2 separate regions of the Homo sapiens genome follow, and region 2 is linked to region 1. The links are contacts of gene promoters, found by promoter capture Hi-C in human tissues and cell types (Jung and others, 2019). All regions are on one chromosome and are shown on one strand. The core of a region is centred on a gene start or on the middle of the fragment in contact, and the rest is flanking DNA. Distances in the headings are between cores, read along the strand shown.

Region 1 (3,804 bases), core at 1,175-3,674:
AGAGCCATGCTTCGGGAAGGTGACAGCATGGAAGTGCAGTTTAGGAGGAGTGGTGGACGGAGGCTGCATCGCAGCTCTTTTCCTGCTGTGGTCCCAGCCCAGGTGGCTCTCAGCACCGTCCTCTGCTTGTCCCTCTTGCCTTGGCCCCTGGTCCTATTGGCTCACCTGGAAGCCCTGCCCCTCTATGCTTCCTGGGCCCACCCCTCTCCCCACCCCTGTCCATGCCCCTCCTTCGCCTGGGTGCTTTCTGTTCCTCTGGTAGCGCCTTCTTCTGTTTAGAACATACACACTTAAAAAACAATTATTCCCGGCCTGGGCATGGTGGCTCATGCCTGTAATCCCAGCACTTTGGGAGGCCAAGGCAGGCGGATCACTTGAGGTCAGGAGTTCTAGACCAGCCTGGCCAACATGGTGAAACTTCATCTCTACTAAAAATACAAAAAGTAGCCTGGCATGGTGGTGCATGCCTGTAATCCCAGCTACTCGGGAGGCTGAGGCACGAGAATCACCTGAACCCAGAAGGCAGAGGTTGCTGCAAGCCGAGATCGTACCATCGCACTCCAGCCTGGGTGATAGAGTGAGATTCAGTCTCAGAACAAAGGAAAAAACAAGCAATAATTCCCATAGTCATCCATATTTTTAAAAATGAAGATTCTACACTTCTAGTTTTGTTTTTGTTTGTTTTGTTTTTTGAGATGGAGTTTCACACTGTTGCCCCAGCTGGTGTGCAGTGGTGAGATCTCGGCTCACTGCAACCTCCGCCTCCCGGGTTCAAGCGATTCTCCTGCCTCAGCCTCCCGAATAGCTAGAATTACAGGCGCCCACTACCACGCCCGGCTGATTTTTTTTGTATTTTTAGTAGAGACAGGGTTTCACTATGTTGGCCAGGCTGGTCTCTAACTCCTGACCTCATGATCTGCCTGCCTCCGGCCTCCCAGTGTTGGGATTACAGGCGTGAGCCACCGCACCTGGCCTATACTTGTAGTTACAAAAAACAAACCACTATAGCAAAGCTATCCTGAGCACGTATGTACCTGGTTCTGGGCTAAATAATTCCTTTTACACTCAATTCATCCTGATGGCAACCTTCTGAACGAGCCATCATCTTACAAATGGGGACACAGAGAGATTAAGTAACTTTCCCAATGTCACACAGCTAAACTAGCTGGTCAGAAGCTGCCTTGGCCTTGAATCCTGACTCTCTGACCCCAAGCCCATGTCTTGAGCCCCTCTGTTTCACTTCAAAGCAGAACTGTCCCCAAACCTCCCCGGGTTTCAGTCAGCCTTTTCTGCAGAGCATTTCATCACAAACTCTCTCAGTCTCTCTGGGTTGTTGGACCCTAGGTGGTGAAAGAGTCCACCAGGCCAGCACTGTCCACTCCCTGTGAAACACCTTTCATCACCGTTGTGCCCAGCGGGGAGTGGGGGAGGTGGCTGGGGCCACAGAGGAGAACCTATCACTGTTCTCAGGGCTCTTAGTCGGGGGATAAAAGCTCGGGGCAACTGCAGCCCACTCTGTAGGGGCCACAAGAGAACCCCATTCAACACAGGTGCTGGCAGGATACCCCATTGAGCTGGACAAGCTGCAGAACCTCGTGGTCAACTACTGCTCAGAGCTGTCGGATATGAAGATCATGTCCCAAGATGCCATGATGATCACGGATGAGGTCAAGGTGAGCTCAGGGCCCAGGGCTGGGGGCCCCCCAGGGCCAGCCCTCTTGGATCTTCGGATGGGGTCAAGGTGAGCTCAGGGCCCAGGGCTGGGGGCCCCCCAGGGCCAGCCCTCTTGGATCTTCGGATGGGGTCAAGGTGAGCTCAGGGCCCAGGGCCGGGGGCCCCCCAGGGCCAGCCCTCTTGGATCTTCGGATGGGGTCAAGGTGAGCTCAGGGCCCAGGGCTGGGGGCCCCCCAGGGCCAGCCCTCTTGGATCTTCGGATGGGGTCAAGGTGAGCTCAGGGCCCAGGGCCGGGGGCCCCCCAGGGCCAGCCCTCTTGGATCTTCGGATGGGGTCAAGGTGAGCTCAGGGCCCAGGGCTGGGGCCCCCCAGGGCCAGCCCTCTTGGATCTTCGGATGGGGTCAAGGTGAGCTCAGGGCCCAGGGCTGGGGGCCCCCCAGGGCCAGCCCTCTTGGATCTTCGGATGGGGTCAAGGTGAGCTCAGGGCCCAGGGCTGGGGCCCCCCAGGGCGGGCTCTCTTGTGTCTTCTGGCCAGGGTCTCTCAGGAGACCCCCATGCCCACACTGCCTACAATCCCCAGAAGGATCCAGTGGCCAGCCCGGCCAGCCTGCTCTGCTCACCCACTGGACAGAGCAGGTCCCATCCAGCACAGGAGCCATGAAGTAGAGGAGAGGGAGAGAACTGGCCGGGCCAGGGCGGGGGTCACCTATTCACCCAGTCTGTGCCAAGGTCCCTGCAAGGCTCTGGGGATACAGCAGGGACCGGGACAGGCAGACCCTGTCCTCCTGAAGTGGGTGGCACTCATCCAGTAGTCCATGAAGAAATGCCACACAGCCCCTGAGCCAGCTCAGCAGAGACAGGTGGGGTGGCAGATGGCTTTCCAGGAAGACAGTGCTTGAGCTGGGCTGAGGGATTGAACCCGCAAAGGTCAGGTGTGGCCAGGGCTAGGGAGGAGGAGGTACAACTTGGGAAAAGGCCCTGGGCTGGGAGGGGTGTGATACATGGAGCAGCGTGTGGCCAGGGCAGTGGAGGCTGCAGAGGCACAGGCCCCAGGAGTCCACGGAGGCGGCTGGGCTGGGGGCCCAAGGACTGACCTGGAGCCCTGGGAGGAGGTGGAGGAAAGATGTGACCAGGTCTGTGCTTCAGAAAGGGTGTACTCAGGCTGCAGGGACTGGAAGGTGCCAGGGCAGAAGCGCTGATCACCTGGGTATACCCGGGGTGGAGAAGGGGTGGCCAGGAGCAACGGAGCTGAGAACTCCTCAAGAGGCAACCCCACTAAGCGCTGGCAACGAGAGTGGCGAGGGTGAGAGCAGTGTCTGGGGTGCGTGAGCAGGGGTTAGCAGATGACGGTTTTAGCTGCCCAAGGGCACGCTGGAAGAGGCCAGGTTTTGGGGAAGAGGATGAATCTGTCTTCAGGCAGGCTGAATGCACTTCCGTGAGTTCTAGGTGGACCTGGCCAGGAGGCAGCTGGGGGCCAGCGGCTGGAGGGCAGCAGAGCGTCTGGGCTGGCACATGCTCTGAGGCATGGGCAAGGAGGGCCGTGAGCTGAGGGGCCACGGGCACAAGTGGTTTAGGAAAAGGGTGTGGCCATTGGCCGGGGATGCAGTTCCAAAGTCTAGTAAGGTGAGCATGGCCAACCGCCCGCTGGCTTTACTGCCATTAGGGGCCTTGTTGAGACAGCTCCCCAACCCTGTGCCCACCCGCATGTCCCCAGAGGAACATGAGGCAAAGGGAGGCGTCCTTCATCGAGGAGCGCCGGGCAAGGGAGAACCGGCTCAACCAGCAGAAGAAGCTGATCGACAAGATCCACACGAAGGAGACCAGCGAGAAGTACCGCCGGGTAAGCCCCAGGCCAGGGCCTGGCTGGCTGCCCATCCCCATGACAGCTGGGTGGACACAGGCTCAGGGCCACCACTCAGGGCCCACTCCCTGCCAAGGATGTCTCATCCCTTCCCCGCCCCCACCTCCCATCAGGGCCAGATGGACTTGGACTTCCCCTCGAACCTGATGAGCACGGAGACCCTGAAATGTAAGCGCTCAGCTCCCCACCTGCCCCCAGCCAGGGTCCCAAGGAGAGGCTGGCACTGATTCAGGCCAACGGATCAAGTCACCCTGAGGCCAGGTGTGACA
Region 2 (2,500 bases), core at 1-2,500, 750 kb after region 1:
AGGCCTTTGCCATGTGGCTACAGATGTTTGACTAAGAAAAAGATTCTAGGGCTGGGCACAGTGTCTCACGCCTGTAATCCCAGCACTTTGGGAGGCCGAGGCGGGCAGATCATGAGGTCAAGAGTTCAAGACTAGGCCGGGCACGGTGGCTCATGCCTGTAATCCCTGCACTTTGGGAGGCCAAGGCGGGCGGATCACGAGGTCAGGAAATCGAGACCATCCTGGCTAACACAGTGAAACACCGTCTCTACTGAAAATACAAAAAAATATTAGCCGGGCGTGGTGGTGGGCGCCTGTAGTCCCAGCTACTTGGGAGGCCGAGGCAGGAGAATGGCGTGAACCTGGGAGGCAGAGCTTGCAGTGAGTTGAGATCGTGCCACTGCAATCCAGCTTGGGCGACAGAGCAAGACTCCGTCTCAAAAAAAAAAAAAAAAAAAGTTCAAGACCAGCCTGGCCAACATGGCGAAACCCCGTTTCTACTAAGAATACAAAAATTAGCCGGGCGTGGTGCCTGTAGTCCCAGCTACCCGGGAGGCTGAGGCAGAATTGCCTGAACCCAGGAGGCGGAGGTTGCTGTGAGCCAAGATCACACCATTGCACACCAGCCTGGGCGACAGAGCGAGACTCCGTCTTGGGAAAAAAAAAAACACAGAAAAAGGTTCTAAGCAAAACCATCAGGCAAAGTCCTAAAGGAACTGGAAGTAGCAACTGTGACCTTAGGGGAAGAAAAGACAAGGCCTCAGGCAATGCCCATGGGCCACCGCTGGCTGCCCTCGCTGTGAACAATGCCCATGGGCCACCACTGGCTGTCTGCTGTGACAGGCGCGTCTAACAAGTGCTGGCAGCTGTGACAGGCAGCAGAGAGGGGCCAGATCCACCACTCCCACAGTCCTCAGGCGCCAAGAAGCCACGGGGCCAAAGAGCGCGGCAGAGCAGACGCCAAGAGGACCCTTCTCTGGGTCCAGAAATGCCCCCCAACTGGGAAATCCAGGCATCTGGTCCCCCGAGTTACATACCTGTGGGCTGTCATCTTTCTCTTCCTCCATGGCCAGAAACAGAAAAAACAGTCAGGGGCGAAAAGCAGACAGCCTGAAGCAAACAAGGGCACACCTCTACCCGCTCATGCTCACACCTGGACACTTTTCCCTGGGTTCCTTTCAAGTCAAATTATGTTTCACTGAAAGGAAAATCCTGCTGAAAAAGTCTGTTCTCCAGGAAGAAAAGCTGTCTTTTGAGAAGTGTCTGTCATCTGCTAGGAGCCACCTCCTTCCCTCTGTAAACAGCCCTCACGTGGCTGTCCCGGAACCCAGAACAGCAGCCAGATGGGGCGTATCCAAGCAGGTCAAGAGGAGCCAGGCCCAGCGCGGCGGGGATGGGGGCAGCGCTGCCTTCTGGAGAAGCACGGCTGGAGGGGAGGTGACGCTGGCGGGGCGTGGATCCGGGGTGTGGGGATGCAGCTGGGGAGGAGGGTGCAGCTGGGGAGGGGGTGGATCCGGCGTGTAGGGGTACCGCTGGGGAGTGGGTGCAGCTGGGGAGGGGGTGGATCTGGGGTGTGGGGGTGCCGCTGGGGAGTGGGTGCAGCTGGGGAGGGGGTGGATCCGGCGTGTAGGGGTACCGCTGGGGAGTGGGTGCAGCTGGGGAGGGGGTGGATCTGGGGTGTGGGGGTACTGCTGGGGAGAGGGTGCAGCTGGGGAGCGCGTGGATCCGGCGAGTGGGGGTACCGCTAGGGAGGGGGTGCAGCTGGGGAGGGGGTGGATCTGGGGTGTGGGGGTGCCGCTGGGGAGGGGGTGCAGCTGGGGAGGGGGTGGATCTGGGGCGTGGGGGTGCCGCTGGGGAGGGGGTGCAGCTGGGGAGGGGGTGGATCTGGGGCGTGGGGGTGCCGCTGGGGAGGGGGTGCAGCTGGGGAGGGGATGGATCTGGGGTGTGGGGGTACCGCTGGGGAAGGGCGTGCAGCTGGAGAGGGGATGGATCTGGGCTGTGGGGGTGCCGCTGGGGACGGGGTGCAGCTGGGGAGGGGGTGGATCCGGATTGTGAGGGTGCGGCTGGGGGGCGACTTCCGCGTGGGGTGAGAGGTCGCCTGCGAGGGTGACCGGGCAGGAGGGCTCAGTGCGCAAGCCGGACGTGCTGGGTCCAAGATTATTGATTAATTTGGGCACCGCGAGGGCTCGAGTCCCCCCACACCACTGCCCGGCCTGCGGGGGAGCACAGACAGCCCGGGCCCTCCCGGCTGCAGGTCCCGGGCTTTCCCCGCGCGGTTGCCGGCTCCGCCCAGAGGAGCCGCGCCCGGCGGAGGGGTAAGAAAGGCAGGGTCGCGGCGTCAACGCGGCGGCCGTCTCGAGTCCAGGGCCCGCGTCCTCCCCGACCTCCCGACGCCACCTCACGGCCTCAGGGGGACTGGGCTCCCGGGAAACCGCCGGCCACCTGGCGGACGAACACAGGCAGTGGCGGGCAGTGGAGACGCCAGGGACCACCGCGCTGAGAGCGATCACTCATCCGCCAG

What was found. The method cuts DNA at HindIII sites, captures the fragments that hold promoters and counts their contacts. A contact is called where the count stands out against the background at its distance.
Region 2: the fragment with the promoter of PNPLA7 here is called in contact with a fragment that was not itself captured in region 1 in 1 of the 25 tissues and cell types used here (spleen).

The regions. Positions count from the first base shown.
Region 1 is chr9:136,801,114-136,804,917 of GRCh38, forward strand. It overlaps CCDC183 (coiled-coil domain containing 183), which reads left to right. Exons shown (of 14, transcript NM_001039374.5): 6 at 1,551-1,673; 7 at 3,389-3,514; 8 at 3,649-3,703. CCDC183-AS1 (CCDC183 antisense RNA 1) reads right to left here. Exons shown (of 5, transcript NR_024580.1): 5 at 2,814-3,804. Among named protein-coding and RNA genes, the nearest start is that of RABL6, 4.9 kb to the right of the region's middle. RefSeq lists an enhancer at 1-343. The HindIII fragment of the contact is 7,702 bases long and covers 1-3,804 here.
Region 2 is chr9:137,549,152-137,551,651 of GRCh38, forward strand. It overlaps PNPLA7 (patatin like domain 7, lysophospholipase), which reads right to left and starts at 1,251. Exons shown (of 35, transcript NM_001098537.3): 1 at 1,017-1,251. The coding sequence starts at 1,046. RefSeq lists an enhancer at 360-861 and a silencer at 2,050-2,500. The HindIII fragment of the contact is 18,703 bases long and covers 1-2,500 here.